Linked DNA regions of Homo sapiens: regions 1, 2 and 3 are each linked to region 4. Evidence: promoter capture Hi-C in 16 types of primary human blood cells and fetal thymus (Javierre and others, 2016). All regions are on one chromosome and are shown on one strand. Each heading gives the region's core, a stretch centred on a gene start or on the middle of the fragment in contact. The rest is flanking DNA. Distances are from core to core; before and after follow the strand shown.

Region 1 (5,696 bases), core at 1,828-4,327, 510 kb before region 4:
TGAGTGATAAGCTTGACAGGCCTTAAAGAAGATATCAGCCAGGCGCTGTGGCTCATGCTTGCATTCCCAGCACTTCGGGAGGCCAAGGCAGGCAGATGGCTTGAGCTTAGGAGTTCGGGACCAGCCTGGGCAATATGGTAAGACCCTGTCTCTACCAAAAATACAAAATAATTTAGCCAGGCATGGTGGCACGAGCCTGTGGTCCCAGCTACTCAGAAGGCTGAGGTGGGAGGATCGCCTGAGCCTGGGAGGCAGAGGTTGCAGTGAGCCGAGATCACGCCACTGCACTCCAACCTGGGTGACAGAGCGAGACCCTGTCTCAAAAGAAAAAAAAAAAAATATTAGTTCACCCGCGCCATGCTGGAAGCCTGGGAACCGCCTGGGGCCTCCCTCAGCCTGAGAACTGGGGTTTTGCCTGGAAGAGCCTTGTGGGTCGGGGAGGGGTCAGGATAGAAAGTGATTGTGAATCCACATATTCATTCATCCATCCATTCATTCACCTTTCCACCCATTCATCCATCTATCCATTCATTCATAAAACCAACCATCTATCCATCTATCCATCCATTCATTCATCTGCTCATCCATTTATCTGTTTACCCATTCATTCATTCATCCATTCACTCGTATTCATTCATCCAACCATCCATTTATATACATCCATCCATCTATCCATCCATCCATTCATTCATCTGTCCATCCATCCCTCCCCAAGCTCTACTCCCATTCTGAATTTCATATTTTACTTAACACTTGTAGAGCTCGCTCTTCTTAGTTGCTTTACAAATATTACCAAAATTCAATCCTTAGAGCCCCATCTCATGGTAGGTACTAACACTAGCTCCATTCTACAGATGGGAAAACTGAGATACAGAGAAAAGTCAAGTTACCCAAATTCACAGAGCTGGGATTTGGATGCCAGCCTATCAGACTCTCAGCCACTATGCTGGGAGGACAAGAGTCACTTCCTTCAGGGTCTCACTCTGCCGCGCAGGCTGGAGTGCAGTGGTGTAATCACGGCGCGATCACTGCTCACTGCAACCTCCACCTCCCAGGCTCAAGCCATCCTCTCATTTCAGCTCCCTGAGTAGCTGGGACTACAGGTGCACACCACCACGCCAGGCTAATTTTTGTATTTTTTGTAGAGACGGGGTTTCACCATGTTGCCCAGGCTGGTCTTGAACTCCTGGGTTGAAGGGATCCACCTGCCTCAGCCTCCCAGAGTATTGTGTTTACAGGCGTGAGCCATCACACCTGGCCAACATTTTTGGTTTTTTAAGAGACAGGGTCTCAAGCAGTTGTCCAGGCTGGAGTGCAGGGGCATGATCATAGCTCACTGCATCTTCAGCCTCCTAGGCTCAAGCAGTTCTCTTGCTTCAGCCTCCGGAGTAGCTGAGACCACAGGTGTGTGCCACCACACCCTGATACTTTTTTTATTTTTATTTTTGTTTTGAGATAGGGTCTTGCTCTGTCCCCCAGGCCGTGTCCCACATTGGTGTGATCATGGCTCACTGCAGCCTCAACCTCCCAGACTCGAGCAATCCTCCCACCTTAGCCTCCCAAGTAGCTGGGACTACCGATGTACACTATCATGCCCAGCTAATTTTTTTTTTTTTTTTTTTTTTTTTTTTTTTTTTTGTAGAGACAGGATCTCACTATGTTTCCCAAGCTAGTCTCGAACTCCTGACCTCAAGCGATCTTCCCATCTTGGTCTCCCAAAGCGCTGAAATTACAGGTGTGGGCCACCATGCCTACCTAATCAACTTTTACTTTTGGAATTATTTTAGGTTTACAGAAAAGTTACAACAATAATACAGAGAGCTCCTGTGTACCTCTCATCCTGACTTCCCTGTTATTACATCTTACATAACCATGATACACTTGTCACAACTAAGAAATCAACATCCGTGCATCCATTACTATTAACTAAACTCTAGACTTTATTCAAATTCCCCAGTTTTCCCACTTGAGTGCTTTTTCTGTTCCAGAATCTAATGCAGGATCCCACGTTACACTCAGTGGTTATCACATGTCTTTAGACTTATCTGGTCTATGACGTTTCTGTCTTGTTTTTTCTGACCTTGACAGTTTTGAGGATTACTGGCCAGGGAGTTTTGGAGAATGCCCCACTGGCCTTTTTTTTTTTTTTTTTAAGAGAGATGGGGGTCTCACTATGTTGCCCAGGCTAGACTCAAACTCCTGACCTTAAGTGACCCTCCCACCTAAGCCTCCCAAAGTGGTGGCATTACAGACATAAGCCATCATGCCCAGCCACCACCGGCTTTTATTTTATTTATTTATTTTTGAGATAGAGTCTCCCTCTGTCGCCCAGGCTGGGGTGCAGTGGAGCCATCTCGGCTCACTGCAACCTCTACCTCCTGGGTTCAAGCGATTCTCCTGCCTCAGCCTCCCAAGTAGCTGGGACTACAGGTGTGCACCACCATGCCTGGCTAACTTTTCTATTTTTAGTAGAGATGGGGTTTCACCATGTTGGCCAGGCTGGTCTCAAATTGCTGACCTCAAGTGATCCACCCACCCTGGCCTCCCAAAGTGCTGGGATTACAGGCATGAGCCACCGCACCCAGTCTTTTATTTTATTTTTTAGAGACAAGGTCTTGCTGTGTTGCCCAGACTGGTCTTGAACTCCTGAGCTCAAGTAATCCTCCTGCCTCGGCCTCACAAAGTGCTGGGATTACAGGCATGAGACACTGCACCCGTCCCCTAATGGCTTTTGAGGGCAGGAACTGTGGCCTCACTTTGCTGGACGTTTCCCCAGCCTGTAACCCAATGCAGTAGCTGCTTCAGACGCTTCCTAAATGAACAAATATTGAATGGCCATCACTGAGAGCTTTATCTTCCTGTGCTCCCTGTTCCGCAGGCATCCCTGCCAGAGGCTAGATCTAGAAGAGTTCACGGCGAAATAAAAGCTTTTCTCCTTTCAGAAAGATTTGTTTTTGATCCTTTCTTTGTAGACATCAAGGATTCATTTCTTTAATATTTAAGGGCTTTTGTACCAAAGAGAAGCAGCCGCATTTGCATCAGTCTCATTTTTTCAAGGCAGGCGAGAGAGATCTTTCTAGCAAGATGGGGTTTCTTCCTTCACGGAGCTGTCACTTGATTTATCTGCTTCTCCTTCCCCAGCCTTCATGCCTCTGGCAGGGGGCAGGGAAGAGCGAGGGTTCTGGAATGATCCACAGACTCTGATGTCCTCTCTGCCACAGCCCAAGGAAGCTTAATTAGAACCTCGCCAATTTGCTGGGACTGAGGTGGCCTTAGGAGCTGGTGCAGGGGCCTGGCCGGGGATGAAGATGAATTAGCAGCTTTTTTTTTTTTTTGAGACAGGCTGGAGTGCAGTGGCACGATCACGACTCACTGCAGCTTCGACTTCCCTGGCTCAGGTGATCCTCCCACCTCAGCCTCCCGGGTAGCTGGGACCACAGGCACTTACCAGCACATCTGGTTGTTTGTTGTTGTTGTTTTTCTTTTGTTTTTTGTTTGTTTTTTCTCACAGAGACAGGGTATCGCCCTGTCTCAAACTCCTGAGCTCAAGCAATCCTCCCACCTCGGCCTCCCCAAGGTGCTGGGATTACAGGTATGAGCCACTGCACCTGGCCTGAATTAGCAGTTTTATTTCCTGTCCCTCTGAATAGCTCAATAGCTACCACGGGGACCAAAAGCCTGCCTTGGGTACACAGAGCATGTCCCTTTTCTAACATTAGCTGGTCAGAAGTGGGAATCCCTTTAGCCATGCAGGCCTGCAGGTCTCACTGCTTTTTATTTCTCAGCCCCAGGAGGCCAAGCTGAAGGCAGAGAATCTAAAGAAGCTGTCTTCAGCGAGGTCATCTCCCCGCCACCGAGGTCCCTACTGCTGGGAGACACTGGCCCCAATTTAATCTCTTGCCTGAAGTTTTTCAGACGTAAAAATGAGCCTGGGTGAGCTTTTCAGATAGTTCCTTCAACTTACAGGAATTCAATTTCTGGCCTGGATATAAATTTGCAGCCATCAGCGCCCGTGGTAGGGGCTGGGGCTGGGCGCTTTGGCCGGGGATGGATTTCTGAAATCAATCCGTCCGCGTGTGGAAAAGGTCGCCATGGGGGACATTTAACTTCCATGGCTGGCTGAGGCATTTCACACCGATAGCCAGGGACACCCCTATACAAAATGGAAGTGTTTGCTGCGAGTCCCCCAGGCAGCGGCTGGAGGGAGGCCTCGAAGGCTGGACAGCACAGCCAGGAGGTGACATTGATCAACCTGCCAATAACAGACAGCCAGGTACCAGGACTCCTGAAAACCCACCTCCAAGGGCTCTTTCCTGCTAGGTCCCCATGCGCCCCTGCGGGTGGCAAGTCCACTCTGGGTCCAAACCCTTTATCCCTTGGCTACACCTCCAACACACATTCCAGGGTTTCAAAGAAATGAGTCTCAAATGCATTCAATTCCCCCAGTGGAGGTGGGAGGACGTGGTCATTAAGGGTCTCCTAGGTTCGAGCCTCAGGTCTGCCGTGTGACCTTGGGCTACTGACTTAACCATCCTGTGCCTCCGTTCCCCCAGTTAGAGTATATAGCTAAGAATAGTACTGATGTCATGAGGTGGTTGTTAATATATCAGAATGGCTTAACGTAATGTTATGGTTTGAATGTGTCCCCGCAAAATTCATGTGTTGGAAACGTAATCCATTTTATTTATTTATTTATTTAAAGTGAAAGCAAGTTTATTAGAGAAGTAAAGAAACAGAAGAATAGCTACTTCAGAGGCTGGGTGCGGTGGCTCACACCTGTAATCCCAACACTTTGGGAGGTCAAGGGGGGCAGATCACTTAAGGCCAGGAGTTCGAGACCAGCCTGGCCAACATGGTGAAATCCTGCCTCTAGTAAAAATACAAAATTTAGCTGGGCATGATGGCGGGCGCCTGTAATCCCAGCTACTCGGGAGGCTGAGGGATGAGAATCGCTTGAACCAGGTAGGTGAAGGTTGCGATGAGCCGAGATGGTGCCACTGCACTCCAGCCTTGGCGACAGAGTGAGACTCCATCTCAAAAAAAAAAAAAAAAAAATATGGCCAGGTGCGGTGGCTCACACCTGTAATCCCAGCACTTTGGGAGGCTGAGGCGGGCAGATCACCTGAGGTCAGGAGTTCAAGACCAGCCTGACCAACATGGAGAAACCCCGTCTCTACTAAAAATACAAAATTAGCCAGGCGTGGTGGCACATGCCTGTAATCCCAGCTACTCTGTAGGCCGAGGCAGGAGAATGGCTGGAACTCGGGAGGCGGAGGTTGCGGTGAGCCAAGATTGTGCCATTGCACTCCAGCCTGGGCAACAAGAGAGAAACTCTGTCTCAAAAATAAATAAATAAATAAATAAATAAATAAATAAATAAATACAATAAAATAAAAATAAAAAAAGTAACAGTGTTGAGAGGTAGCACCTTTAAAGATGAGGTTAGGTGAATTAATGCCATTATCAGGGAAGTGGGTTAGTTATCATGGCAGTGGGCTATTGACAACAAGAATGATTTTGGTCCAATTTCCTCTCTCTGTGTCACTTTTGCCTTCAGCCCTTTGGCCATGGGATAACCTTTGCCAGAGGCTGGTGCTATGCCCTTGGACTTCCCAGTCTCCAGAACTGGAAAAATAAATTTTTTTTTTTAAGAAAGATTAATTAATTGATTATTTTACAGATGAGGTCTGGTTCTG
Region 2 (5,370 bases), core at 2,833-5,332, 280 kb before region 4:
GGGTGGATCACCTGAGGTCAGGAATTCGAGACTAGCATGACCAACATAGTGAAACCCCATCTCTACTGAAAGTGCAAAATTAGCCGGGTGTGGTGGTACAGGCCTGAAATCTCAGCTACTTGGGAGGCTGAGGCAGGAGAATCACTTGAACCTGGGAGGTGGAGGTTGCAGTGAGCCGAGATCGCACCACCGCACTCCAGCCTGGACAACAAAAGCAAAACACTGTCTCAAAAAAAAAAAATAGCAAAGGGAGCAGGGTGCAAGGAGGTGAGGTGGGGTGAGGGAAACGTCTCACTAACTGCCTTCCCATCCGTCGGATATTGGAAACCCCATCTTCCACGTCCTCAGACCAAAACCCCAGCAGATCCAACCCATCTCAGCAGATCTAATCCATCAGCCAGACCCGTCTGCTCTTCTGCTTAGATCCTGAATTCCTCCACGTCTCCGCTACTCCCCACTGCCCCCAGACCCTCCCTGAATTCCCAGCTCAAGACACCATCTGGATGACAGCAGCTGCCTCCCTGCTCTCTGGATTTCCATCCTCAACCCCAGGTCTAGTCTCTCTGACAGCAGCCAGAGGGCGCCTGTGAACATCTGAGTCAGTTCACGTCCCTCCCTCCCTCCTCTGCCCTGAATCCTTCTTGGCTCCCACCTCCTTTAGAGGAAAAGCCCAAATCCACCCATGATCCATAAAAAGTTGCGCTATCTTGGTGACTCACGCCTGTAATCCCAGCACTTTGGGAGGCGGAGGCGGGCGGATCACGAGGTCAGGAGATCGAGACCATCCTGGCTAACACAGTGAAACCCCGTCTCTACTGAAAATACAAAAAAAGTAGCCAGGCGTGGTGGCGGCTGCCTGTAGTCCCAGCTACTCGGGAGGCTGAGGCAGGAGAATGGCTTGAACCCGGGAGGCAGAGCTTGCAGTGAGCCGAGACTGTGCCACTGCACTCTAGCCTGGGCAACAGAGCAAGACTCCATCTCAAAAAAAAAAAAAAAAAAAAAAAAACTTGTGCTATCTGCCATATCCCCTTCTGCCCTCCTCCCAGGCCCTTCCTCACACGAAGCAAGTTCCAGCCTCAGGTCCTTTGTACCTGCTGTTTTTGCAGCCTGGAACATTGTTCACAACTTAACATCATTCCCTTCCTATCCTTATTCAAGTCTCAGCAGCGCTCCTTGAACAGCAGATTTAGGGTTGTACCTCCATATACAAGCTCTCTCTCTCTCTGTCTCTCCCTCTCTCTCTCTCTCTTTCTCTCTTTCTCTCTCTCTCTCTCTCTCTCTCCCCCACGCCCTCTTTTTTTTTTTTTTAGACGGAGTCTCGCTCTGCAATCTCAGCTCACTGCAACCTCCACCTCCCGGGTTCAAGTGATTCTTGTGCCTCAGCCTCCCAAGAAGCTGGGATTACAGGCATGCGCCACCACACCCAGCTAATTTTTGTATTTTTAGTAGAGACAGGGTGCCTGATCAACAGGTGAAATCCCGTCTCTACTAAAAGTACAAAAAATTAGCTGGGCGTGGTGGCGCATGCCTGTAATCCCAGCTACTCGGGAGGCTGAGGCAGAAGAACGGCTTGAACCTGGCAGAGGTTGCAGTGAGCTGAGACCGCACCACTGCCTTCTAGCCTAGGCAACCTGGGTGAGACTCCATCTCAAAAAAAAAGAAAAAAAAGAGAGAGTCGTGCTCTGTTGCCCAGGCTGGAGTGCAGTGGAGCAATCATAGCTCACTGTAGCCTCCAATTCCTGCACACAAGTGGTCCTCCTGCCTCAGCCTCCTGAGTGGTTGGAACTACAGGTGCGCACCACCATGCCCAGCTACTTTTTTGTAGGGAGGGGGTCTCACTGTGTTGCCCAGGCTAGTCTCAAACTCCCAGGCTCAAGTGATCCTCCCACCTTGGACTCCCAAAGTGCTGAAATTACAGATGTGAGCAACCACACTGGCCCTAAACCTATGCTTCCTGATGCCTGCACAAGCACATATCCCGAGGGTCTCCATCTCACACACACATTGCCTCATTCATGCATTCAACCACAGACACCTTGAGTGCCTATTGTGTGCCAGGGATGCTGTTTTAGGCAATGAGGACACAGCCTTAACCCAAACAGACAAAATTCCTGCCCTTGCAGAGCTGACATTCAAGTTGGGAGAACAGAGAAATAAGTCAAACAGCCGCTAGGTAGGTCAGAGGGTAATCGTGCTTAGGAGAAAAATGGAACAGGCAAGGGGGTGACAGTCCCGGAGGTGGGGGACATTTAATAGAGGAGTCAGGACTGGGTGTGCTGACTCACGCCTGTAATCCCAGCACTTTGGGAGGCCGAGGTGCCTGTAATCCCAGCACTTTGGGAGGCCGAGGTGCCTGTAATCCCAGCACTTTGGGAGGCTGAGGTGGGAGGATCACTTGAGGCCAGGAGTTTGAGACCAGCTTGGCTAACGTGGCGAAACCCTGTCTCTACTGAAAATACAAAAATTAGCCAGGCGTAGTGGCACGCGCCTGTAGTCTCAGCTACTCAGGAGGCTGAGACACAAGAATCACTTGAACCCGGAAGGCAGAGGTTGCAGTGAGCCATGATTGCACCACTGCACTCCAGCCTGGGCAATAGAGCGAGACTCTGTCTCAAAAAAAAATAAAATAGAGGAGTCAGGAAAGGCCTCACAGAAGAAGTGACACTTGACTGGAACAGTGCCTCATGCCTGTAATTTCAGCACTTTGGGAGGCCAAGGCAGGAGGATTGCTTGAGCCTAGGAGTTTGAGACCAGCCTGGCCAATATGGTGAAAGTCCATTTCTACTAAATATAAAAATAAAAATAAAATAAAGAATAAGGGACACTTTCACAAAGACCTGATGGAAGAGAGAGAAGAGGAAGAGCATTCCAGGCAGAGAGAACAGCAGGTGCAAAGGCCCGGAGATTGCACCCAAGAAATGGCAGAAAGGGGCCAGGCACGGTGGCTCACGCCTGTAATCCCAGCACTTTGGGAGGCCGAGGCGGGAGGATCACCTGAGGTCGAGAGTTCAAGACCAGCCTGGCCAACATGGTGAAACCCCGTCTCTACTAAAAATACAAAAATTAGCTGGGCATGGTAATGCATGCCTGTAATCCCAGCTACTACTCAGGAGGCTGAGGTGGGAGAGTCACTTGAACTCAGGAGGCCGATGTTGCAGTGAGCAGAGATTGCGCCATTGCACTCCAACCTGGGCGACAGAGCAAGGCTCAAAAAAAAAAAAAAAAAAAAGGCCAGGTGCGGTGGCTCACGCCTGTAATCCCAGCACTTGGGAGGCCAAGGCAGGTGGATCACGGGGTCAGGAGATCGAGACCATCCTGGCTAACACAGTGAAATTCCGTCTCTACTAAAAATACAAAAAAAAAAAAAAAAATTAGCCGGGCATGGTGGCGAGCGCCTGTAGCCCCAGCCACTCCAGAGACTGAGGCAGGAGAATGGCGTGAACCCGGAAGGCGGAGCTTGCAGTGAGCTGAGATCGCGCCACTGCACTCCAGCCTGGGTGACAGAGCGAGACTCTGTCTCAAAAAAAAAAAAAAAAAAAAAAAGAAATGGCAGAAATGTCTATGAGGCCGGAAGAGAGAAGGGGGAAGCAGGAGGAGGTAAGAAGTGTCAGGGCAAAGTGTGAAGGGTCCTGTGGGCCCGGAGGAGGACTTGGGTTTTACTCTGAGTCAGGCAGGAGCCATGGAGGGTTCTGGGCTGGAGATGGCCACATTTACTTCTGGACTCAGACACCAAGCAGGGGCTCACAAGGATCCGGGGGTAGGGTCCTCTCTTTGTCCCCGATCACTGACATGCCCCACCCCCCACAACAGAGATTGAGCAACCCCCCAGAACTGGGACGTGTGTATAACACCCGCTGCCTTTTACACTCTCAGCCTGGGGTGGCGGGGTGGCCTGGGGGCCCCCAAGCCAAGCTGTGGTCGGAGTTTCCCCACAGTGAGAATCAACCTCCACCTACCTTCCCACCCTCTCACCTCTGATGCCCAAGACCCTGAATCCAGCGAAGCTCACAGAACACACAAGAAGTCCAAGGAAGAGCCGAGGGTCCAGTGGGGCCTCTGAGCTAGAGACGGGGAGAGGGCAGTGGGACAGAAGGAGAGAGGAGGCTTGGTAACCACTCCCCAGCCCCCAGAGCCTGGGAGTGGAGCTGGGATGCTGGGCCCAGGAGCCCAAACTATAAATATTTAGCATTTCCCGAATGAGAAATGAGACAGAATTGCCAGACCCCCCTGCCCAGGCCACCAGAGCCTGATAACACAGGTCAGTGTCCTGGACATCCCTCCCTTTCCCCCACACCCTCCACTGCAGAGCCCAGAGCGTGGGAGGCTGCAGGCCCTGGGGCAGCCAGGCGTGATCCCAGCCCCAGACACGCACACACCACACATAGAAAGAGGAACATCACTGGGGACTTACCGTGTGTAGGGCTTGGCTCTAAACTCTCCACACCTTTTACGTATTTGATCCTTACAACCTGAGCTGGATTCTGTATGTACCCTCATTTTACAGCAGGGAAAACTGAGGCTCAGAGAGGGTAAGCAACTTGCCTGCGGTCACACAGCCAAAAAGAGACCAGGATGGGAGCCAGCCAAGGTAGCTTGACTCAGAAACTCACACATGTACACCACAGCTGTCACACACATATGGGCACATAACAGAGTGGACACAAACACACACACACACATTTGCACGCACGCACACATTAACACCCAGCGAAAGTCTGGGTGCAGTGGCTCATGCCTGAAAGCCAGCACTTTGGGAGGCCGGGGCAGGTGGATTACCTGAGGTCAGGAGTTCGAAACCATCCTTGCCAACATGCTAAAACCCCGTCTCTACTAACAATACAAAAATTAGCTGGGCATGGTGGCATGCGCCAGTAATCCCAGCTACGCGGGAGGCTGAGGCAGGAGAATTGCTTGAAGCCAGGAGGTGGAGGTTGCAGTAAGCCGAGATCGAGCAACCGCATGCACTCCAGCCTGGGCGACAAGACTGAAATTCCATCTCAAAAATAAATAAATAAATAAATAAATAAATAATAAATAAATAATAATAAAGTGAGGAATTAATTAATTAAAATAAAAAATAAATATAAAAGACACAGCTGTAAATTTTTAAATTGTGATAGAAACAATATATTCTTAAAGTGAAAACCCTACCTCAGTTACATGTGATTTATGTTTTTTGGATTAATCTGGATTTTATAATTAGAAATAAAAATGTAAGGCTGGGCGCGGTGGCTCACGCCTGTAATCCCAGCACTTTGGGAGGCCAAGGTGGGCAGATCACGAGGTCAGCAATTCGAGACCAGCCTGGCCAAGATGGTGAAACCCCGTCTCTACTAAAAATACAAAAATTTGCCGGGTGTGGTGGCCCAT
Region 3 (5,478 bases), core at 1-2,500, 260 kb before region 4:
TGGGGAAGAAGAGCCTCACCTTCCTCCTTGCGACAGCCTTTGAAGCCTTCCGGGTCTCAATCCTGAAGGTGCGGACAATCTGAGGATGGGAGGGGAGAAGGGTCAGGCTCCTGGGACCAAGGGATCTCCTTTATCAACCTCCTCAACACACCCCACCCCATTCCGGTCTATGGGCCCCCAAGCACAAGGGTCCCCACTCCCTGCACCCCCCACCCTCACCTTGAACTTCTTGCCATCCTCATCTATCTTGTACTCTGTCACTGTCTTTATGTTTCCGTTGATGACCTCCTTGGGAGGCGGCAGTGGAGCTGGCAGAAGGGGAAAAACAGAGAAAGACTGAGCCCTGGGTCATGGGGATCAGGAGCGGCAGGGCTGGAGGGAGAGGCAGCCCGGACACCGAGTGGCAGTCCTCACTCACCTCCCGGCAGTCCTCACTCACCTCCCGGCAGTAGCTCTGGCTCTGGGCTGGTGTCACCTGTGGCCAGAGGGATCCCCTTGAGGAGCTCGCTGGTGACACATTTGTCTGCAAAAGGCAGCGTAGGAAGGAGGAGTCAGCTCCAGGGGCAGGAGCTCCCCAGCTGCGATGGAAGGGCTTTTGGGATGACGCCTACAGCAAAAGCGGAGAAAGGCAGGCCAAGGGCAGAGGGCTGGCCAGGCAACGCACTGGGATGGCCCTGTGGGGACTCGGAGTGGCAAGGATGGGAGATCCCTCGTAGGAAGGTGGGTGCCAGGCCATGAAGCCAACCAGGCGCCAGTAGAGAAACAGGAGACGGGAGATTACAACTTCCTCCCTGGAGGGGAACAGCTGGGAGGCAGTGGCATGGGAGGAAGAGGGACCCGCCGGGGAACACCTGGAGTTGGCAACAGGCGGGTCCCAAGGAGGATGGCGCGGGGCAGGGGCAGACCGTGACGGGGTACACGGTGCCAGACTGGGAGATGGAAGCAGGCGGCAGTCACACGGCTTGGGCCTGGCCGCGAATACCCCGGGCGACCGTGTACACTTACCGTCCTCCCCCTCCTCCTCCACCTGGTCGGCCCAACTGGGCTTCGAACTGCGGAAACAAATGTGTGGGGAACGAAGATTAAGTCAGCCAGGCCCGGCTCCCGCAGCCTCGGCGTACCCAGGCCCCATAATACTTCCCAGAGCACCCCAACCGCTTCCCGTGCCCCTTTCCGCGATCGCCGACTCACTCAAAGTCTCCAGTAGGCATCGCAAAAAGTATTCTCCACGCAGCCCAAGCCCGGCCAGAGAGCGGAAGCGGGCGAAAACGAGACTTCCGGTGCCGCCGTCGCCGCCTAGAGGGGCCCAGCCGCGGCACCCACAGCGACACCTGCGGACGGAGGTGGAGGCGCACGCGGCTGTGTATGCTACTGGGCGCTGCTGGTACCAGAGTAGGGCCAGCGGGGGCAGAGGCTGATTTCAGGGCTGGTCCTATTAACCTTTAAAATTAAAATAGGCCAGGCGAGGTGGCTCAAGCCTGTAATCCTCGCACTTTGGGAGGTCGAGGCGGGCGGATCACCTGAGGTAAGGAGTTCGAGACCAGCTTGGCCAACGTGGCGAAACCCCGTCACTACTAAAAACACAAAAATTAACTGGGCGTGGTAGTGCGTGCCTGCAGTTCCAGCTACTCGGGAGGCTGAGGCAGGAGAATCGCTTGAACCCGGGAGGCGGAGGTTGCAGTGAGCCGAGATCGCGCCACTGCACTCCAGCCTGGCGACAGAGCGAGACACCGTCTCAAAAAAAAAAAAAAAAAAAAAATTAGCCAGGCGTGGTGGTGGGCACCTGTAATCCCAGCTACTCGGGAGGCTGAGGCGGGAGAATCGCTTGAACCCAGGAGGCGGAGGCTGCAGTGAGCCGAGATCGCACCACTGCACTCCAGCCTGGGGCTGCAGAGTGAGACTCCGTCTCAGAAAAATAAGTAAAATTAAAATAAATAATAATAATCATAAAGCTCACTTATTGAGTGCTTATTGTATATGAAGCATGGTGAGGAGGATATTACTTCCATTTTACAGCTGAAGAAACTGAGGCTCAGACTGGGTGCAGTGGCGCCTGCCTGTAATCCCGCACTTTGGGAGACCAAGGCGTGGGGATGGCTTGAGGCCAGGAGTTTGAGACAAGCCTGGGCAACATAGTGAGACCCCTGTCTCTAAAAAAGAAAAAAAGAAAAAGAAAGAAAAAAGAAACCAAAGTTCGGGGAAAACAATCCTTTTGCTTAAACTGTTCCTTGTCTTCTTTCCCGATCCCAATGATTCAGATGCCAAGTGGCCTCCCCTCAGCCACTCCCTCTTCTTTTCTTTGTAGCATTCTTGGCTTTCCGGTATAATTTTGTGCATTTACTTGTTTATTGCTCAGCTCCTTGCTCTAAGCACAACCGTCCTCAGTCGAAGTGATTCATGATGACTCCCCAGGGGAAAAAACTGGTCCTCAGGGAGGAAAAAAATCTTAGATATTGTGGTCTTCCAAAGCCAGCTCTATCAGACAGCATTTATCCCTAAGTATTTAGTTTCTGCCTTTAGGGAGATATTAAATGTAATTAAATTGAAATTAATTTAGTTGATGTAAATTCAATTTTAGGATAATTCGGGTTTTCTCCTAAGAAGGGTGATAATGAACAAAAAACGTTTGACAATGTCGGACGCAGTGGCTCACGCCTGTAATCCCAGCACTTTGAGAGGCCAAGATGGGCAGATCTCTTGAAGTCAGGAGTTCGAGACCAGCCTGGGCAATATGGCGAAACCCCGTCTTTACTAAAAATACAAAAATTAGCTGGGTGTGGTGGCCCGCGCCTGTAATCCCAGAACTTTGGGAGACTGAGGCAGAAGGATCACTTCAGCCCTGGAATTCGACCAGCCTGGGCAACACATAGTGAGACCCCCCATCTCTAAAAAACAACTTTTTTTTTTTTTTTTGAGATGGAGTCTCACTCTGTCGCCCAGGCTGGAGTGCAGCGGCGCAATCGCGGCTCACTGCAACCTCTGCCTTCCGGGTTCTAGTGATTCTCCTGCCTCAGCCTCCCGAGTAGCTGGGATTACAGATGACCACCACCACGCCGTGCTAATTTTTGTGTTTTTAGTAGACGGTTTAGTAGAGACGGGGGCCCACCTCGGCCTCCCAAGGTGCTGGGATTACAGGTGTGAGCCACTGCGCCCGGCCCTTAAAAAAATTTTTTTTTTTTAATCAGCTGGGCATAGTTCTGTGTGCCTGTAGTCCCAGATACTCAGGAGGCTGAGGTGGGAGAACAGCTTCAGCCCAGGAGGTTGAGCCATGATCATGCGACTGTACTTCAGCCTGGGTAACAGAGAGAGACCCTGTCTCAAAAACACACACACGCACACACACACACGCAACAAAACAAAAAATAACTTGTAAGGGAGAATGCCCTGAGAAAAATAAATAAGAAGACAGGAAAAAAAAGTTTATGCTTTTTTATCCTCTGAGTTGTGAGTGAGGAGGCCACTCAAGTGTTTGGAATATCACCAACTTTTCTTGTGGAAAAAATTATTCTAGAAGCCTGTAGAGAGCCAAGTGGAAGGGAAAACATTAGCTGGAGAGCAGGAAAGAGAGGCACGCCGCTGTGGCCTTTCAGGAGGGTGGCCTGGCTATATTGGTGAAAATATGAAGCTGGTCCAAAGGACTGATAAACATTTTTACAAGCTTACTCAAATGTACTCTGAGCAACACAAAATCCAAACAACCCAGCAGATTGGGCAAAGCTTCAAAAATTCGATATCACCCCGTGGTAGTAAAGATGTTATAGGGAAACAGGCTGGGCACCTGTAATCGGGAGGCCGAGGTGGGTGGATCACCTGAGGTTAGGAGTTCAAGACCAGCCCCTGGCCAACATGGTGAGATGCCGTCTCTACTAAAAATACAAAAAAAAAAAAAAAAAAATCTGGCCATGGTGGTGGGTGCCTGTAATCCCAGCTACTTGGGAGGCTGAGGCAGGAGAATCGCCATTGCACTCCAGCCTGGGCGACAGAGCAAGACTCCATCTCAAAAAAAAAAAAAAAAAAAAGAGGAAGCGATATATAAAATGGCATATATTACAGGAACCAATTTGTGTAAATCTTCAACAGCACATAGATATGCAGATATATGCAAATCATTTCCTGGAAAGAAAGAATCAGAACCTGTTAATGAGGAATGCTTTGGAAAGAAGGCACCAAGAAAGGAAATATTATTTTTGGACATGTATTAATATATAATATGCATTTATGTAATATATGTGAGATGTAACATATAAATATATTTCTTGGCTGGGCACTGTGGTTCGTGCCTATAATCCCAGCAGTTTTGGAGGCCAAGGCAGAAAGATTTCTTGAGCCCAGGAGTTCAAGACCAGACTAGGCAACATCATTGAGACCCCATCACTACACACAAAAAATTGCTGGGTGTGGTAATGCACGCCTGTAGTCCCAGCTACCTGGGAGGCTGAGGTAGGAGGATTGCTTGAGCCCAGGAGGTCAAGGCTGCAGTGAGCTATGATTGTGCCATTACACTCTGGCCTGGGTGACAGAGCAAAAACCCTGTCTCTAAAAAAGAAAGAGGCTGAGCACAGTGGCTCACGTCTGTAATCCCAGCACTTTGGGAGGCCAAGGCAGGCAGATGACCTGAGGTCAGGAGATCAAGACCAGCCTGGAAAACGTGGTGAAAACCCATCTCTATTAAAAATACAAAAATTACCTGAGCATGTTGGTGCATGTCTGTAATCCCAGCTACTCAGGAGGCTGAGGCAGGAGAATCGCTGGAGCCCAGGAGGTGAGGCTGCCATGAGCCAAGTGCTGGGATTACACAGGTGTGAGCCACATCAAGGTTTGGGTGCAAGAGTACATCTGGTTATAGATTACAGAAGCATAATACCCTGACCCCATTAGATGTTATTTTATGTGTAGGAAAAGGTTTGAACCAGGTCCTTTTTTTTTTTTTTTTTTTTGAGATGGAGTCTCACTCTGTTGCCCAGGCTGGAGGGCAGTGGCACAATCTCGGCTCACTGCAAGCTCCGCCTCCTGGGTTCACGCCATTCTCCTGCCTCAGCCTCCTGAGTAGCTGGGACTACAGGCACCCGCCACCACGCCCAGCTAATTTTTGTATGTTTAGTCGAGATGGGGTTTCACCGTGTTAGCCAGGATGGTCTTGATCTCCCGACCTTGTGATCCGCCCACCTTGGCCTCCCAAAGTGCTGGGATTACAGGTGTGACCCACCCGTGCCCGGCCCAGGTCCTTTTTTTCTTTTTTCTTTTTTTTTTGGGGGACGGAGTCTTGCTCTATTGCCCAGGCTGGAGTGCAGTGGTGCGATCTCAGCTCACTGCAACCTCCGCCTCCTGGGTTCAAGCGGTTCTCCCGCCTCAGCCTCCTGAGTAGCTGGGATTACAGGCATGCACACCACCACACCCGGCTAATTTTGTATTTTTAGTAGAGACGGGGGTTTCTCCATATTGGTCAGGGTAGTCTCGAACTCCCGACCTCAGGTGATC
Region 4 (6,231 bases), core at 1,940-4,439:
AATAGGTGGGTGGGTGGGTGGATGGATGGATGGATGGATGGATGGATGGATGGATGGATAGATGGATGAATGGGTGGGAGGATGGATGGGTGGGTGGATGGATGGATGCATGGATAGGTGGGTGAGTGGGTGAGTGGGTGGGTGGATGGATGGATGGATGGATGGGTGGGTGGGTGGATGGATGGGTGGGTGGGTGGATGGATGGATGGATGAATGGATGGATGGGTGGATGGATGGGTGGATGGGTGGGTGGATGGATGGGTGGATGGATGAATGGGTGGGTATGGATGGATCGATGGGTGGATGGATGGATAGATGGATGAATGGGTGGGTGGATGGATGGGTGGATGGGTGGGTGGGTGGATAGGTGGGTGGATGGGTGGGTGAGTAGGTGGATGGATAGGTGGATAGGTGGGTGGATGGATGAGTGGGTGGGTGGATGTATGGATGGATGCGTGGGTGGATGGATGGGTGGGTGGGTGGGTGGATGGATGCGTGGGTGGATGGATGGGTGGGTGGGTGGGTGGATGAATGGGTGGATGGGTGGATGGGTGAAAGGGTGGGTGGATGGGTGAATGGGTGGGTGAATGGGTGGGTGGATGGGTGGATGGGAGGATGGATGGATGCATGGGTGGATGGATGGGTGGGTGGGTGGATGGATGGGTGGTTGGGAGGGTGGATGGGTGGGTGGATGGGTGGATGGATGGATGGATGGATGAGTGGGTGGATGGGTGGGTGGATGGGTGGGTGGGTGGATAGACGGATGGATGGGGCCCAGCTGCTGCTTGCACACCCACCCCAGTCCCCATGGTGCCAACGCCCCAGACTCACCAACTTTATGTGCAATGTGGATGCAGACTTCCTCAGCTGTCAGCGATGACTCACTGAAAGTGACCCAGGGCTCCCCGCCGCCTGGACCAGCCCAGTGCAGAAGCACCTTCAGGCCTCCCATGGCAGCCATGGGCTGGGCTCCATCCCCAACGGGCTTACTGCCCCTGGCCATCCCCCAGTGGCGCAGAGGCATGCTCCCGGCAGGTGGCTCAGCTGGAAAGGGGACAATCTGTCAGCTCCCAAGTCTCAGCCCAGAGACCCCTGTTAGCTCTTCAACCTTCCACCCACCCCAGCTAAGGCCTGAGGGGAAGATTCTGGGCTCCCATCTTGGCATGACATTAGAGACCCGATTCCCTCTCTGAGTCTCGTTTTCCACATTTATTGGACAGGGTTGGGGTATGCATCCCCACCTAGATCTCTCATCAACAATAACACTGAACCCTCCTCTCTTTCCACAAATTGACACAGATATAAAAATCTGCTCTGGCCAGGTACAGTGGCTCACGCCTCTAATCCCAGGACTTTGGGATGTTGAGGCAAGAGGATTGCTTGAGCCCAGGAGCTCGAGACCAGCCTAGGCCATATAGCAAGACCCTGTTTCTACAAGACGTTTTATTTTATATCTTATCTTATCTTATCTTATCTTATCTTATCTTATCTTATCTTATTTTTGAGACAGAGTTTCACTCTTGTTGCCCAGGCTGGAGTGCAATGGTACAATCTTGCTCACCACAACCTCTGCCTCCTGGGTTTAAGTGATTCTCCTGCCTCAGCCTCCTGAGTAGCTGGCGCCTGCCACCACACCGGGCTAATTTTTGTATTTTTAGTAGAGACAGGGTTTTGCCATGTTGGCCAGGCTGGTCTTGAACCTCTGACCTCAGGTGATCCACCCGCCTCGGCCTCCCAAAGTGCTGGGATTACAGGCGTGAGCCACTGTGCCCGGCCTCTACAAGAAATTTTTAAAATTTAGCCAGGCGTGGGGGTGCACATCTGTACTCCAAGCTACTCGGGAGGCTGAAGTGGGAGGATCTCCTGAGCCCAGGAGTTGGAGGCTGCAGTGAGCAGTGATCGCACCACTGCATTCCAGCCTGGGTGACAGAGTGAGACCCTGACTCTAAAAATATAAATAAATAAATAAATAAATAAGTAATAAAAATATATAAAAAGGGCCAGGCGCGGTGGCTCATGACTGTAATCCCAGCACTTTGGGAGGCCAAGGCGGACAGATCACGAGGTCTGGAGATTGAGACCATCTTGACCAACATGGTGAAACCCCATCTCTACTAAAATACAATAAATAAATAAATAAATAAATAAATAAATAAATAAAAAGTAAAATAAAAATCTGCTCTTAACACACCTCCCCAAAATAACCAGACAGGCAGATGTGGTCAAACATACCTGAGGGTGAGTCCTGGAGCTCCCTGTGTCAACTCAAGCAAGCCACTTAGCAATTCTGGGCCTCAGTTTCCCCATCTGGAAAAGGGAGGTCCTCAGGGTGTTGCCATCAAAAGATGGTTGTAATGTTTCAATATAGTTCCGCATATTACACATTCAGCACAGACCCTGATTCAGGCACACACAAAAAGAACAAATATGACCAAAACAAGAATAACATAATTGTTATTAGTTTCATCGTGGTGATGGCCTCTTTCAGGCCACAATTCTCCTCTCCCACATTTACCCCCATGAGTGACCTCAGTCCCTGTTGACTCCCCAAAGCCTAGGAGAGTTTATGTCCAGCTCCATCCCCCCAATCCAGGGCCTGAGCCTCCTGAGGGCGCCAGTATGGAAGTGGAGGGGCTGTCACTTCCACCCATGTTGCTGGTTTCCTCATCTGGAAAATGGGCATGTAACAGTGTCTACCTCAAAAGGCTGCTGGGAGGATTTAACGCGAGGAGGCAGAGAAAGTGCCTGGTATACAGTAAGCGCTTAATTAGCCTTTGCCATTAATACCTATTCATGTTATAGATGAGATCCCGGGGATGGGGCTTTCGCGGAGCCTACTTCCTCCTTCCTCCTTTCTCGTCCCCACTGGACCCAGACCCAGCTTTGAAGACAGGGTCGGAGTGAAGTTTGCAACTGGGAAGGCTGCACGCCCCCATGTCCTCCCCCCAAAACCTCTAAACCCGGCCGGCAACGGCGGGAACTGGGATGTGCACCCACCGGGCATCGGAGCAGTCCCGAGGCACCAGGTGCTCCCATCCAAGTGCAGCCTGTCAAGCGCAGCCAGTCCCCGCGGCTTCTTCCTGAGGACCTCCGGCCGCGCTCCTTCCGCGCCCGCGTCCAGACTCACCCTTCCGGGGGAACACAAGCTCGAACCCGGACCCCTCCCCGCTCCCGCGGGTAGCTACTGCTTGTCCCCCGCCGAGACGCCTCCTCCCATTGGCCGCCTGAAACGCACACGCCCATTGGCAGCTGCTCTGTTCTCCCTGCTCGTCACCATTGGATTTTTTTTTTTTTGCCATGGTGGCGGCACTCTCATTGGTCCTGGGGCTCATTCGTCACTCAGCCGCGATTGGCTGAGTCGGCACCCAGATGCGCTGTCGCTTCTGCTATTGGCTGGCACTCGGTGGACGGAGACGGGGGAGGGGCTTGCGAGAGGCGGGAGGGAGAGCGAAGTGTGTGGGCAACGCGGCCGGATCCTGGAGTTCCCCTCCGTGCTGTGGAATTGGGTCAGGCGTGTACGGTCCTGACCCTAGGACACAGCTGCATGTCCTCACCTCGGTGTTCAAAGCTGCACCGGCCACCATTCAACCCTCCGACGCCCTGCCCTTTGGCTTCCCCGTTCCATCCGGTCCTGTCTCCTTTCCCTCGTTTCTACCTGGCCGACTCCATCCTGCTGACTAGAATTCCCCCTCCTTCACTCCTGGGAGGCATTCCTCGCCCACCTGCCCCAGTCCTCTTCCTGATCACCTGCAGCCCTGTCCTCTGAAGCTCCCTAGCGGTCAGGGTAGCAGCTTGGACATCCCGCCAGACGTGAATTCAAATCCCCACTCCGCAAGTCGTGCCCATTTGCTGAGAAGCCTACAGCCAGAGCGTTTCACATACATTATCTCATTTGATCCTAGCAGCAATTCCCTGTATGGCGGCTCTTATTATCCCCATTTCACAGAGGAAGAAACTCAGGCATGAAGAGGTAACAAAGACCGTCCTCTGACCCTTCTTCTGTGCCACACCATAACCACTCCTCGACTTTGTCTTTCACCTGCCCAGCCAAGTCTTAGCAAAGAAGCCTATTAAGTCATCCGCTCATCCTTGATGTCTGATCAACTTCCTCATCTTCCACTTTTTTTTTTTTTTTTTTTTAAGATGGAGTTTCGCTCTTGTCGCCCAGGCTGGAGTGCAATGCTGCGATCTCGGCTCACTGCAACCTCAGACTCCCGGATTCAAGCGATTCTCCTGCCTCAGCCTCCTGGGTAGCTGGGACAACAGGCGCCCGCCACCACGCCCGGCTAATTTTTGTATTTTTAGTAGAGATGGGATTTCACCATCTTGGCCAGGCTGGTCTCGAACTCCTGACCTCGTGATCCACCCTCCCAAAGCGCTGGGATTACAGGCGTGAGCCACCGCACCCGGCCCTTTTGTTGTTAATTTTTAAATTTTGTGGCTAATTTTTAAATTTTTGTAGAGATGGGGTCTGGCTATGTTGCCCAGGCTGGTCTTGAACTTCTGGCCTCAAGCAATCATCCTGCCTTGGCTTTCCAAAGTGCTGGGATTACAGATGTGAGCTAAGACACCCAGCTCCATGGAGTTGGTCTTAACTGCCATGGCCAAGGGACATGTGGCTGCTTCTCTCTGAGTCAGAAAATATGGGTAAAAAGCCTCCTCACAGGGCAGCTGTGGACATTCAGTATGAAAATGCTGAAAGAGATCGGGAATGGTCTCTTTCACACCTGTAATCCCAGCACTTTGGGAGGTGGAGGCGGGCGGATCACCTGAGGTCAGGAGTTCAAGACCAGACTGGCCAACATGGTGAAACCCTGTCTCTACTAAAAATGCAAAAATTAGCTGGGCATGGTGGTGGGCACCTGTAATCCCAGCTATTCAGGAGGCTGAGGCAGGAGAATCGCTTGAACTTGGGAGGCAGAAGTTGCAGTGAGCCGAGATCACACCATTGCCCTTCAGCCTGGGCAACAAGAGCTAAACTCTGTCTCAAAAAAAAAAAAAGAAAAAGAAAAAGAAAGAAAATGCTGATAGAGGCCGGGCACAGTGGCTCACGCCTGTAATCCCAGCACTTTGGGAGGCCGAGGTGGGCGGATCATGAGGTCAGGAAATCGAGACCATCCTGGCTAAGGCGGTGAAACCCCGTCTCTACTAAAAATACAAACAATTAGCTGGGCGTAGTGGCAGCCTGAGGCAGGAGAATGGCGTGAACCGGGGAGGCGGAGCTTGCAGTGAGCCGAGATTGCGCCACTGCACTCCAGCCTGGGCGCCAGAGTGAGACTCTGTCTCAAAAATAAAATAAAATAAAATAAAATAAAATGCTGATAGAGACTTGTCCTGGCTGGATGCAGTGGCTCATCCCTATAAACCTAGCACTTCAGGGAGCTAAAGAAGGAGTACTGTCTGGGCCCAGTTCAAGACCAACCTGGGCAATATAGCAAGACCCCATCTCTACCCAAAATAAAAAAAATTAGTCTAAGGCTGAAGTATGAGAATCGCTTGAGCCCAGGAGGTGGAGGTTGCAGTGGGCTGAGATCCCACCACTGCACTCCAGCTTGGGCTACAGAGTGAGACTCCATCTCGGGGGGAAAAAAAATTAGTTAGTCCCAGCTACTCCGAAGGCTGAGGTGGGAGGATTGCTTGAGCCCAGGAGGTTGAGGCTACAGTGAGCCGTGATCACACCACTGCACTCCAGCCTGGGCAACTTGACCTCCTGGGCTCTGCTGTATTTTCTTCAGAGTCCTTATTGCAACCTGACATTTCATGGGAAGTTTCTTTCTTTTTTTTTTTTTTTAAAGAGACAGAGTCTTGCTCTGTTGCCCAGGCTGGAGTGCAGTGGCGCAATCTTGGCTCACTGCAACCTCTGCCTCTCAGGTTCAAGCAATTCTCCTGCGTCAGCATCCCCGGTAGCTGGGATTACAGGCGTGCACCACCACGCCTGGCTAATTTTTGTATTTTTAATAGAGACAGGGTTTGGCCAGGTTGGCCATACTGGTCTCGAGCTCCTGACCTCAGGTGATCCACCCGCCTTGGCCTCCCAAAGTGCTGGGATTACAGATGTGAGCCACCGCGCCCAGCTGGGTTTCTCTTCTTTCTTTCTTTCTTTTTTTTTTTTTTTTTTTTTTTTTTGAGACAAGAATCTCGCTCTGTTGCCCAGGCTGGAGTGCAGTGCTGTGATCTCAATTCACTGCAGTCTCAACTTCCCAGATTCACCATTCACAATCTTCCACCTCA

What was found. The method cuts DNA at HindIII sites, captures the fragments that hold promoters and counts their contacts. A CHiCAGO score of 5 or more calls a contact.
Region 1: a fragment that was not itself captured here is called in contact with the fragment with the promoter of TYK2 in region 4 in 1 of 17 cell types (total CD8 T cells); the score reaches 5.0 in total CD8 T cells.
Region 2: the fragment with the promoter of ANGPTL6 here is called in contact with the fragment with the promoter of TYK2 in region 4 in 1 of 17 cell types (neutrophils); the score reaches 5.2 in neutrophils.
Region 3: a contact is called between the fragment with the promoter of EIF3G here and the fragment with the promoter of TYK2 in region 4, in 6 of 17 cell types (erythroblasts, monocytes, endothelial precursors and 3 more). The highest score is 7.4, in erythroblasts.

What each region holds. Positions count from the first base shown.
Region 1 is chr19:9,872,194-9,877,889 of GRCh38, forward strand. The region is part of intron 1 of OLFM2 (olfactomedin 2); the gene reads right to left. Among named protein-coding and RNA genes, the nearest start is that of PIN1, 40 kb to the left of the region's middle. The HindIII fragment of the contact is 304 bases long and covers 2,926-3,229 here.
Region 2 is chr19:10,098,596-10,103,965 of GRCh38, forward strand. ANGPTL6 (angiopoietin like 6) reads right to left here and starts at 4,083. Exons shown (of 6, transcript NM_031917.3): 1 at 3,973-4,083. RefSeq lists a silencer at 628-677 and enhancers at 4,093-4,142, 4,213-4,262. The HindIII fragment of the contact is 11,381 bases long and covers 1-5,370 here.
Region 3 is chr19:10,118,649-10,124,126 of GRCh38, forward strand. EIF3G (eukaryotic translation initiation factor 3 subunit G) reads right to left here and starts at 1,251. Exons shown (of 11, transcript NM_003755.5): 1 at 1,192-1,251; 2 at 1,006-1,052; 3 at 440-523; 4 at 220-308; 5 at 20-79. The coding sequence starts at 1,211. RefSeq lists enhancers at 1-753, 754-1,509. The HindIII fragment of the contact is 4,736 bases long and covers 1-3,656 here.
Region 4 is chr19:10,377,383-10,383,613 of GRCh38, forward strand. It overlaps TYK2 (tyrosine kinase 2), which reads right to left and starts at 3,190. Exons shown (of 25, transcript NM_003331.5): 1 at 2,998-3,190; 2 at 2,233-2,397; 3 at 832-1,044. The coding sequence starts at 1,024. RefSeq lists enhancers at 3,088-3,247, 3,156-3,819. The HindIII fragment of the contact is 15,548 bases long and covers 1-6,231 here.